2 separate regions of the Homo sapiens genome follow, and region 1 is linked to region 2. The links are contacts of gene promoters, found by promoter capture Hi-C in human tissues and cell types (Jung and others, 2019). All regions are on one chromosome and are shown on one strand. Each heading gives the region's core, a stretch centred on a gene start or on the middle of the fragment in contact. The rest is flanking DNA. Distances are from core to core; before and after follow the strand shown. Region 1 has its middle 8.1 kb from the start of GABBR2. Region 2 holds the start of CORO2A (coronin 2A).

What was found. The method cuts DNA at HindIII sites, captures the fragments that hold promoters and counts their contacts. A contact is called where the count stands out against the background at its distance.
Region 1: a contact is called between a fragment that was not itself captured here and the fragment with the promoter of CORO2A in region 2, in 2 of the 25 tissues and cell types used here (IMR-90 fibroblasts and mesendoderm cells).

Annotation. Positions count from the first base shown.
Region 1 is chr9:98,713,786-98,720,316 of GRCh38, reverse strand. No RefSeq gene overlaps it. Among named protein-coding and RNA genes, the nearest start is that of GABBR2, 8.1 kb to the right of the region's middle. The HindIII fragment of the contact is 4,212 bases long and covers 564-4,775 here.
Region 2 is chr9:98,188,759-98,194,736 of GRCh38, reverse strand. It overlaps CORO2A (coronin 2A), which reads left to right and starts at 2,100. Exons shown (of 12, transcript NM_052820.4): 1 at 2,100-2,178. RefSeq lists silencers at 1,771-2,320, 2,391-2,440 and an enhancer at 2,593-3,247. The HindIII fragment of the contact is 8,969 bases long and covers 1-5,978 here.

The DNA of each region.
Region 1 (6,531 bases), core at 1,420-3,919, 530 kb before region 2:
GGTTGGGGAAGGGCATGACCCCTGAAGCTGCCTGCACTTTCCTTTGCATGATAATCTGTAGCTCCCCCAGACTCTTTTTTGTTGTTGTTAAATGCAGTCTCGCTCTTTCGCCCAGGCTGGAGTGCAGTGGTGTGATCTCGGCTCACTGCAACCTCCACCCCCCGGGTTCAAGTGATCCTCCTGCCTCAGCCTCCTGAATAGTTGGGACTACAGGTGCATGCTACCACACCCAGCTAATTTTTGTATTTTTAGTAGAGATGGGATTTCACCATCTTGGCCAAGCTGGTCTCGAACTCCTGACCTCAGCTGATCTGCCCACCTCAGCCTCCCAAAGTGCTGGGATTATAGGTGTGAACCACCGCGCCCACCCCCACACCAGATTCTCTAAAGTGTTCCTAACAGCTCCCCCTCCCAAAGTTTAGAGACACTGACATAGTTTTTTAAAAATTTATTTCTATATAAGGTTAAATCTAATATTGAGAAAGACCAGAGCAGAGATAAAAAGAAAATTGAAACAGAAAAAAACAATAGTAAATATAGAAACCAAATATGGTGGGTTGGTTGCTCTTTTGTTGTTGGAGTTTTTTTAAATGAACTGAACTTGTCATCCTCTGCACAAACTTCACAAAAGGAAAAGAAGAAAAGGATAAAAATAGAAACAAAAGCAATAACAAAATGGCAAAATGATATAAGAACCTTTTTTTAAATAAAAGGAATATATGCTTATGGTAAGAGATAATTCAAACAGTATAGAAGGGTATGAAGTGAAAAATAAATCTGTTTTTACCCTTCCAGTTATTCCTTATCCTTAGACTTATTAGCCAGAGTGTGCCACTTGACAGAAAGAAACTTTATTTATTGTTTTTTTCACATTGCAAGCTATGGTATCCTTTCTGAAGGAGAAGATGGAATTTAGAAAATTCCCAGAGGCATCTCATTTGCTAAAAGATAATGAACATCATATGAAAGAATTAAGTGCTTTCCTGGATCCTGACAAAATAAAGATATCAATCAAAGAAACTCCCCAAAGGAAGTCCAGATGGCCATGCAATTGAACTTTATCATGCTCATCGGTTTGGCAATCCCCATGCCCTTGAAATACCCAGGAAAACCACCCAACAGAAAGCAATACCTGATACATGCAGTGATTCTTTATAAAGCCAACCTGAAACTGGAGGAAACCTTATAAAACTGCTACCTTGTTCAGTAATCCTAATGAACACAGGAGCAAACTTTCTCCTCAACCAATCCTCTAAACGTAGCCACAGATCCATCTGAATTCATGGGGTCTTGTGCAGGCAGGATAGTGCAATATCTTGCACAATATATGAGAGTATCATTCATCATATAAAGTGGATCATCCCAAAGCATTTGACTATGTTGTAATTCCAAACTTCAGAAGCATGTGAAAAATCAATAGGACACTGCTATGGTCCCAGTGTTTGTGTCCCTGTAAAATTTGTAGTAAAACCAGCTGGGCGCAGTGGTTCACACCTGTGATCCCAGCACTTTGTGAGGCCGAGGCAGGCGGATCACTTGAGGTCAGGAGTTTGAGACCAGCCTGGCCAACGTGGTGAAAACCCATCTCTACCAAAAATATTAAAAATTAGCCGGGTATGGTGGTGCATGCCTGTAATCCCAGCTTCTCGGGAAGCTGAGGCAGGAGAATCACTTGAACCTGGGAGGCAGAGGTTGCAGTGAGCCGAGATCGTGCCACTGGACTCCAGCTTGGGTGACAGAACAAGGCTCTGTCTCAAACAAAACAAAACAAATTTGTGTTAAAACCAAATCCTCACTGTAGTGGTATTAAGAGGTGGGCCCTTTAGGAGGTGATTGGGTCATGGGGGCTCCACCTTCTTGAATAGGATTAGTGCCCTCATGAAGGAGGCTTGATGGTGACTTCTGTGTCCTCCTTCTACCATGTGAGGACACAGAAGGCACCATCTACAAGGAACAGGTCCTTGCCAGACATCAAGTCTGCTGGTGCCTTGCTCTTGGACTTCCCAGCCTCCAGAACTGTGAGCAACAAATTTCTGTTTGTAAATACCCAGTCTAAGGTATTTTGCTATAGCAGTCCAAATGGACTAAGACAAACATACTGGCCTTTACCTAAACTGTCTATACAATTTGAAAGGCTGAAATATTAAGAAATGGGCAAAAGGTAACTGAAATACCACTAAAGTCAGATGCCAGCCTATCTGTGTCCTTTGTTATTTAATATAACATAGAGTGGTGGTGTGGGCAGGAGAAATAACTGATTTCATTAGGAAAAAGCAAATTAAAAGACTCACTGTTGTTACTCAAAAAGAGAGGCTTGGAATGAGATTGGCACAACAGGATGCTACTGCTTTCTATCACAGCATGCTCCTGAAAACCAGGCCATAAATCAGATCCTTGAGAAGCAAATCCTATTTACCCAATAGGAATGATGTTATAATTGAATGAAGCTTGCTTTGCTGATCAAGGATTGGGCATTAAACTAATCCTATGTAACTTCTCCTCCCCTGCCCCGATGCGAGCTGACATGACAGCCAGCCACAAGGAAGAGAGACTTCTATGGCTCTCTCCAGCCCTCCACCACTGTCTCCTGGGCCTCAGCACCTCAGGAGGAAAGGGTAACTCTTTCAGCCTTGTGAGGAACCTCATGAAGAACCACACTAGGAGGTCTTCCCTGCCACATCACCTCCCATGACTTAGTAAATGTTCAGGTACTAGTGAACGGTGCACATCTCTTCATTGAACAGATTGCTGACTTTGTGCATGCCTATGGCCTCACACATGAAAAGGAACACAGAATTGTAGACAACTAACTATACAATGCAGTGTGACAAGCTTTTCTAGAATATGCTGAGATAAAAATGAAATACTGTATTTCACTGAATCTTAAACACCATTATTTTATGTATCAACAAGAAAGAAAAAGAATACTTCCAACTATAAGATGCCATCAATGGCAAAGTGCATCCTGATTCCAGAGATGAATAAGAACGTGTGTGTTAGAATGGTGAAATGTGGTAATTAACTTTTAAAGAAATGATAAGTATTATCTGTCAGCATGAACCAAGCCTTACTATGGATGCTGAGAAAAGGTAGCAATTATTTCTGCTGGAGTGACTGGAGGAGATATCACAAAGGAGGTGACATTTGACCTGAGTTTTGAAGGATTTTGTCAGTGGGAGAAAGAGTGGGAAGAGTGTTCCAAGTTGAAGGAATAGAATGAGCAAAGGTATGGAGGCAGAAAAGGGGTTCATGTTTATGGGCCAGCTAATATATTCTACGTAGTTAGAATATAAAAGGTGTGGGGAGAGAGAGCTGGTTGCTAAAGCTGGAAACATTGGAGCCACATTGTAAGTGGCTTGTAATACCAGGCGTGGGAGTTTGTACCCCAGAGGTTATAGGGAGCCATCGAATGTGTTGAGCTGGGGGGTGACAAGATTTGGAAAAGTCAGTTTGGCGGGATAAATGAAAGATAGCATGGAGAAATGTAAGAATAGACGTAGGAATATATACAAGTGAGACTGCAACCAGCCACGTTGGGGGTGGGTGGAGAGAAAATCATATACTCAGATCTTTGTGATGATGTCAGATTTTTAAAAGTGCAATAAAGGCAATAAGTGCCAAGGCTACCGCTAACTCTCCATTTTTACAAACAACACTGTAAGTGTCCTTGTACATCTCTCCTTAGGGGCCTGCAGGAGAGTTTCTCTGAAGGATATATGCTGTACAGCAATGGGAATAAAAGATCTACAATCATATACAACAATATGGATAACTTTCACGATGTTGAGTGAAAGAAGCCAGGCACAAAAGGACAGATGGTGATTCCATTTATATCAAGCCCAAGAAGAGGCAAAACCCAATCTACAGTGTTAGCAGAGTCAGCATGGTGGTCACCCTTGAGAAGGTGAGTGACTGGCCAGCAACATGACTTTTGGGTGCTGGTAATGTTCTGGTTCTTGATGGTGATTACATGGGTGTGTTCACTTTGGGAAAATTCATTGAACTGTCTGTTATATTTCAATAAAATTTATGAAACATACTTAGGGCCATGGAGAGAAACTGAAAGTCAGGATCTGGAATGGAGGTATCAGGAAGCTGTTGGACCCTGCAAGCGCTCAATCCCAGAATGACCTGAAGCGTTGGGATAATGCCATGGACCACAAAAGGGACTTTGTGTGGTGCATTAGGAGAAAGCGTGGACGTTTGTTGAAAAGAATGCAGAATTTTCTCATCTCCAGGCCTGTAACAGAGGCACACAGGATGTATTGGGTGGAGAATGACCAGCAAACAGGAGATAGTGGAGCAAGCATAAAATGAAAGATGAGGAGACTGTTAGAGGGCACCTAGAAGCTTTCAACGAGCCTATGTCTCCAGGGCCAGATGAAGTACCTGTCAAGACAGCAGGACACTGTAGCTAGGATCCAGAAAGAGCATCTGAAGGATCTTTGGGAGATGAGTGAAAGGGAGGGTTAGGTGGCAGGGGATGCAGCAGGGTTCAGGTTTCCTAAGAGCCTAAAATGGTGACTTCAGCAGTAGGGGATTTGGGTGTTTATTGTCAGCAGCGTTTGAGAAGAGCTGATTGGATAAATGATGTGTGATCACACAGAGGAGAGCAGTGCTCCCTACGGTGGTTGTGTTCACCAAGAGCCAGCCCAGTTACGACCACCCTTATTCATGGAGTTATTCATCTGACAGGTCAGAGAAATTAAGAGGTAGCATGTATCAGGGTTTCAGCCGGGCTTTAGCAAGGCTTTTCATGATTTTCAGGAGTGCAAGACAGAGAAATGAGGACTGCAGAATGTGGAAGTTGGGAGCAATTTTCAGTAGGTTTAATTGTAGAACCAGAGGCGGCAGATGACCCCCAGTGTGGGCAGTCACAGGGTGTGTCTTTGGCATTCTCCTATTTAACATTTTGACTAATGCTATAGGATGAGAAAGAAAATCCTATTGTGCAATGACAATGGCATTAACTGAGAGGGATGGTGAATATGAGTGATAAGAGACTCACCACACAAGGATGCCTTCAACAGGCTGCAACATCAGGACATGGTCAAAGGTGAAATGTTTCAATCCTATTCAGAGGCCTCCAAATTAAACGGCTGATAAGTAATGTTAGAGAGATGTGGCTTGCTGTTCTTTTGAAGCATCAGCAACAATAACCCCATAGAAAACAAACCTAGGGTTCTTAGAGAACCACAAGCTTCCTATAAGCCAAAGGGGTGATGCAGCTGCTAGCAAAATGTGGGTAAATCTGGACTATAAGGACAGTGGGGACAGCAGTCACAGGTGTGAGCACAGAAGGGCAGCCATGCTCTTCTACATCTTTCTTGGCCCAGGTGGAGGGTTTTGTGGTTGGTTCTGGGTAATGTCTTTGAGGAGAGCCATGAGCAGACTCTAGACTTGTGGCCAGGGGAGGTTTGGGGGCATTTCTCCCAAAGAAGAAGACTTGGCTAGAGGTGGAGAGTGAGGGGGTGCCTAGGAACTACCTCTGGGAAGGAACTGCCATGGGTGAGAGGGAGTGCTGTGGACTCCTGCAACAGGTTAAAACCCGGTAAAAGCTGTAGAAAGGCCTACTGGTGGAGCCTAAGAAAAAAATGTGTGAAAACCTCATGAATCAAGTAATGAAGTGGGAACCTCAGCAGGCACTGATCTTGCCATCTTTAGCAGTAATATAATTATTTATTACATGCCTAATAAGTACCTAGTACTGTGTTAAGAACTTTATATGCATTATCTTAATAAGGGAGATAATTACATGTAAAGTGGTTTAAACAGTGTCTGGCACATGTGAATGCTCACTATGTGTTAGCTATTGTCATTATCTAATCCTCACAATAACCCTATGAAAGAGGAACCTTTATTGTTCCCAGTTTACAGATGGAGAAAATGAAGCTCGGGAAGTTAAGTAACTTACTCAAAGTTGCACCACTAATACTTAGCAAGCCAGAATTTGAGGCCAGGGCTGCCTGACTCCAAAACTCACCACTGTCCCTAAGGGGTAAAGAGGGACTCATATGTTTGGAGGGGTAGGAAAAGAGGCTTCCTAAGCCTGTTCTTCGTCTAAGGTTCTGTTCTAAAACTCTCCCTCTTGTCCATCCTGGGTCCCCTTTGTTAATAATCTAATTGTTTTTGAAACCTCTAAATGAGAGAGGATTTAATCCCTGTTGCCAGTCTGTGTTGTTCTGGAGACCACCCAATTACAAGCTAAATGTCCTTTCTGTGTTCATTCAGGACCTGTCCCACTGACCTGAATCAATCTTCCACAGTTCTCAAACCACATGAAGAGTATGGGTAAAGGAGGAGGCTCTGGGCTCTGCTGGCCTGCCCTAGCCTTGCCGTTGACTCTTTTTTTTTTTCTTTGAGATGGAGTCTCGCTCTGTCACCCAGGCTGGAGTGCAGTGGCCCGATCTCGGGTCACTGCAACCTCCGCCTCCTGGGTTCAAGCAATTGTCCTGCCTCAGCCTCCTGAGTAGCTGGGATTACAGGCCCATGCCACCATGCCCGGCTAATTTTTTTTTTTTTAGTAGCGAC
Region 2 (5,978 bases), core at 851-3,350:
AAGACATTCAAGGCCAGGCGTGGTGGCACGCACCTGTAATCCCAGCACTTTGGGAGGCCAAGGCAGGCAGATTGCTTGAGCCCAGGAGTTGGAGACCAGCCTGAGCAACGTGGCGAAACCCTATCTCTACAAAAAATATAAAAATTGGCTGGGCATGGTGGCACGCACCTGTAGTTCTAGCCATTCGGGAGGCTGAGGTGGGAGGATTGCTTGAGCTTGTGTGGTGGAGGCTGCAGCAAGCTAGGATTGTGCCACTGCACTCCAGCCTGGGCGACAGAACAAAACCATGCAAAAACAACAACAACAAAGTTATTCAGATGCCTTAGCCTGGGAAAGATCATGGTGCCCACCGTCCAGCTGTAATTCAAGTAAAAACCAAACCATGATTATAAAGAATTCCCACAATGTTCTGATTTCATCCATATGTTTGTTTGTTTGTTTGTTTGTTTGAGACAGAGTCCCACTCTGTAGCCCAGGCTGGAGTGCAGTGATGTGATCTCGGCTCACTGCCACCTCCACCTCCTAGGTTCAAGTGATTATCCTGCCTCAGCTTCCCAAGTAGCTGGAACTATAGGCACATGCCACCACGCCCGGCTAATTTTTGTATTTTTAGTAGAGACAGGTTTTCACCATGTTGGCCAGGCTGGTCTTGAACTCTTGAGCTCAAGCAATCCACCTGCCTTGGCCTCCCAAAGTGCTGGGATTACAAGCATGAGCCACTGCGCCCAGCCATCCATATGCTTGATACCCAACTCTTGCACGCTAACACCAGAAGCATGCGTTCAGTCTACCTGCTGGGCAATCCAGCTCCAGAAGGTCTGAATCAGAGCTGTAGGATGGGGTTTTCAGGACCATAGTGCACACTGGGCTTTGGGTGGTAGGCAGGGAGCCCGTCCAGCTCTGGGCAGGGGGGTGGTACAGTGGACTATGGAAGCTGAGTCACATTCTAAGGAGAGAATCAAGAGCTCCCTAAGTACCTTGCCACTCCAAGCCTCAGTTTTCTTATCTGTAAAATGGAGGTAATAATAGTGGCTAAATAAAGCCACTATTATTAGAAGCTTAGAAGAAACGATACAGATATGTAAAGTAGTAACAGTGTACTCTGTTATCCACTCCACAACTATATATTGAGTGGTTACTATGTGCCACGGAGCAGTTCAAGGCCCTCAAGATAACCCGTCTCTACTGAACAAAACCAAGAGCTCTTCACAGACGTGGTGTGGAGTGGAGTGGCTGTTAGCTTAGTAGCCGTGGGAGCCATACTGCCTGGGGTTGCATGACTAGCCGGGTGATCTTAACCTAGGTACTTAATATCTCTGTGCCTCAGCTCTTTTGTGTTAAATAGGTGAGTAATGGTATCAACCTCATAGGCCTGTGTGACAGTGAAGCGAGGTAATGCACAGAAGGCGCTTAGAGGAGTGCGTGGCTCAGTAGTGTTAGGTGGGGGTGGTACCCAAAGGTAGGGCCTCCCCATTGTCTAGTGTCCTCAGGGCTCTCCAGCCAGCGAGGCTGGCAGCAGCGCCCCCGGCTGGTCCCGAGAGAAGGAAGGGCGTCCTCCTCGGTTCCCAGCGGCGCTCCCGGCTCCTCTCCTCCCTGCGGACGGGGAAGCCTCGGTAACCGCTGTAACTGCTCGGGGAAAGGAGCGCTTCCCTGGCCGGGCTCGGCGCGCGCACTGTACCCGGCCGGGATCGTCACATCCAGGGCTCAAACAGCCTTAAGAGGCCGACGCGGTTACTGTCTCCATTTCACAACGGGGGAAACTGAGGCTCCGGGAGGTCAGGTTCCTCATCCCACACCACGCAGCGAGGGCACGGCGCGACGTGGGGCCCGCGGCTCTGCCTGTCCCCAGCCTCCGCCTGGTGGCCGGCAGCCCGCCCCAATCACTGCGGCGTGTGCGCGCCTGTTCCCAGCACGTGTGCGCGCCCCGAGACCCGCCCCGGGGAGCCAGGAGCGCGGTCGGGGTCGTGGGGGCGGAAAAGGGTGGCCAGGGCGGACCCGCGGGGCGGGCAAAAGGGCGGACCTTGGGCCAGGCCCCCGCCCCGCCCTCCGGCCCCGCCCGCCGGGCTGCAGGGGGAGGCGGCGGCGGCTCTGGGCGCCGGGAGTCGGCGGGCGGCGAGGAGCGCGGAGCCGGAGCTGGACGCCGCCGCCGCCACCGCCACCTGCGCGGCAGTCATCAAGGTAGGGCGGCCCTGCGCCGCCGGCCGTGCCTTCCCGGTCTGCGCGATGGGGGCGTCGGGCGGGACGTGCGCGCTGCGGCTGCAGCTCCCGGAGAGGGAGGGATGCGGGGCTCGGAGCGCGGGGGACCTGGCTTTCAGCCCCTTTGCGTGACCTTGCACAAAGCACTGCTCCTCTCCAGGCCTCAGTTTCCCCGTCAGGATAGCTTGCTCATTGGTGGCCCCCTTCTCGCGGGGTTGTTGGGAGGGGCCGCCTCGAGGTCCGGGCTCCCGACGGCTCGCTGCCCTCATGAGCACTGTCTGCACCGCCCACCCCTCCTGCCCGCGGTGAGGGAAGCTCACTCTGGGCGCGGCCAGCCGGTCCCGACAGGCCCCTGCTGTGGCCCGGGTGCTCCATGGGACTCTTGTCGGGACCCTCCCCCTCTTGGCTGCGTTACCTGCTGGGCCTCAGCTTCCTGGTACAGGAAACGGTGGGGTGGGGGGCATCCCCGGGTCCCCGCCAAGCCGGCCTGGGCGTGCATGTGGGGCATCAGCCGGCCCGCCAAGAGGGTTTACTCGTCTGGGGCTGGAGGAGCCCTAGGTTGGAGGTGGCTGGACTCCTGGCGGCACGACTGCCTGGACCAGCCCCACGTAGGCACCTCGATTTAGAGAGTGGTATAGGATAGCTCCTTCCCCTTCCCCACCCGGGCCAGGTGCTGGTGCCTAGCTCTGTGTCCCAGAGCTAGTGTGTGATAAGGTGTGACACACACTAGCTGGTGTGACAAGGGGTGACTGGCGGCCACGCCTGGACCTCAGAGGGGTGACAGTGCCAAGGTGCTGTGTCCGCGTGGCATTAAGGGATGGGGCAGAGCACAGGTCTGAGGGACTGTGGTCCCAGGCTCCCTAGGTAAAGAAGACCTATGGCATCTGGCCCAGCCCCTCTGTAAGATCCCCTCTGGAAGGTCTTGCTGCCCCCTTGCACACTCCTTGTGATAGGAATCTCACTAGTTGTAAACCAAGCTGGAATCTGCTACCCAGTCACTGCCTCTCCTGCTGGTCCTGCTCTGGACACACAAACAACCTCTGACCCTTCCTCCCTCACCCTGGGGCAGTGGTCAGGTCCCTTAAATATGCTCATCTCCAGACCCAGCAGCCCCAGGCCCAGCAGTTTCTCCCATCAGATCCCAGGGAGCCAAGGCAAGAAGAGGGAGCCGAGGTGTCTGCCCTGGAGCAGGCTGTGGGGCCTCCGCTTTCCTGGGGCTTGTTCAGAACCCACCTGTGCATCAGGACTGGAATGTGTCTCCCCAGCTTCCTGCCCCTCCTGGGGACCGTCTGAGAGGTCCGGAGTGAGGAGAGCCGGAGCCCCTCTGCAGGCCTTTCCTGCCCCATGGGGCCTCTTCTCCACCTCCCTGATGCCTGCCCTGTTTGAGGGAGCAGTTTCTAGGAATCACTTCTCAGCCTCCTGGTCTTTCTTGTCCCCTTCATGACCTGCCCTGCACCCAGGGATTTTCTTAACAGCCAAAAGAGGGCAGGAGGCCCCTGGACAGGTAGTGAGCTCTTTGTCATCACAGGTATTCAAGCAGAACCTGGGGGTGAGCTACCTTGGACTGAAAGTCTATGGAATTCTAGGGCTGAAGTAGTGCCTATGACCTTGCCCTGCGGCCATGGTGGAGCTGCACAGGACTGGGAGCTGGACCACAAATGAGTGTTATTATCCCCTCGTAAAAGCAGGCAAAGTATATGTGCTGGCCCATGAGCCCAGCTCCGACGCACAGGCTTAAGTGCTACCTGGGTCTCCTGTCATCTCGACACATGTATAATCTGGGCCCTGTTTTCCTGCTTGCCTAATTCAAGCCTTTTTGGCCTGATTTAGGAGCATGGCAGATTCTGGTTATTAAAAAGTCATGCTATGACTTTAATTGCTAATACTTTTTAAATGCACCATGGAATCATGGAATGTCTGAGCTGAAAGGAGCCTTCAGACGTCGTCTCATTCAACCCCCTCATTTTACAGATAGGCATCCCCTGTCGCCAGAGGGGATGTGACTGGGCAAAGGTCACACAGCAAACCAGCAACCGAGCCCAGGGATCCTGATTCCAAGATTGGAGTGCCTTTTTTTCTCCAAAAAAACACATAACATATAATAAATGAAAGCAGTCTGTATTTATTCCTGTAAAATTAGCAAAAATAAAAATAAAAAGATGAAACTCTGTGCTGGCAAGGCTATAGGGATTCGCCTGTGGCATTTAATTTTGCAGAGCAACCTGGCAGCCTGTTATCATGAAAATGATCATATTTGCCCTTTGCCCTTAGCCGGCTACTTTGGGGACTTTATCCTAAGGAAGTAACTAGGGAGAGAGACATATGTAGTGCTGTTATTTGTAAGAAGTTGTCTTCTGGCCAGGCACAGTGGCTCATGCCTGTAATCCTAGCACTTTAGGAGGCCAAGGTGGGCGGATCACCTGAGGTCTAGAGTTTGAGACCAGCCTGGGCAACATGATGAAATCCTGTCTGTACTAAAAATATAAAAATTAGCTGGGTGTGGTGGCACATGCCTGTAATCCCAGCTACTCGGGAGGCTGAGGCAGGAGAATCACTTGAACCCGGGAGGCAGAGGTGGCAGTGAGCCGAGATTGTGCCACTGCACTCCAGCCTGGGCGACAGAGCGAGACTCCATCTCAAAAAAAAAAAAAAATAAAGGAGTTGCCGTCTAGTGAAGAAGTGTTCAGTTTTATCTGAGGCTTAATAAACATTTCATTTGACAAATACAGCTTAAAAAATAGTGGCACTGAAGCTTACATTACCGGAGTCTGGCCAGCATAGAAACAGTTTAATCCAGAAGAAAGACCATGAGACTAAAGTCAGCAGACATAGATTCCAGATTGAAGTCTTCCTCTTCCCTACTGTGTGACCTTGGGCCGATCCGTTCCCCTCTCTGGACCTCACTTTCTCCATCTGTGAAATGGGGGTAGACTCAGCAGTTGCTGAATTTGTTTGAGCTCTGACAGCCAACCTCTTAGAGTGAACAAATCTCAGTAGCAAAGCCGAGATTGGAAGGAGATTCATTAAATGAATCCCCTTAGAGGCAGGTAGCTAGCTCCCCACCGAGGGGTTTCAGCCTTAAACCTTTGCTATTTCAAAATGGCCAGAAGCTGGATCGTTTTAGAAGTTGGTGTGTTTTTATCTTCTCTGCCAAATCTCAGGAGGTCCAGAAAATAATTCAGCAGAATCTTCTTGTGTTTTAAGTCTATAATCCATGCCTTGCCTCCTTCAGAACAGATTGGACGTGCTTTGCAATCACACCTGGTCTAAAGGGCCAGGAGTAGGTGACTTTGCTTCTGTGGTCAAACTGTGCCTCCTGGGGGTCTGCAGGCTGCTATGGGAAACTTACTAGGTTAAACCACATGAAACGGCCAGTATGTGACTTTTTTTGACTTACAAGAAATGGCAATTTCATTTGGTTCAGCCTAAATGGAAAAAGATATACAGGTATTTAAAGAGCGGTGTGCTCCTTACTATAATTGAGAGATTGGCAGGGTGTGGTGGGGACAAGGAAGGTGTGATTATGAGCTTGCAGAAGTCAAGGAGGAGGGACATGGGAGCCTCACTTTGAAGAATCACTAACAGTAATAATAATAGCTAACATTCATTGAGGGTTTACCGCCTGCCTAATTCTGTCCTAAGTGCTTTATGTTCATTCATTCCATTAGTCATTCAGCCAGTATTTATTAAGCACCTACATTGTACTAGTTTTTTTGTTTGTTTCTTTTGTTTTGTTTTTGTTGTTGTTTTTTGTTGTTGTTGTTGTTTTCTGAGACAGAGTC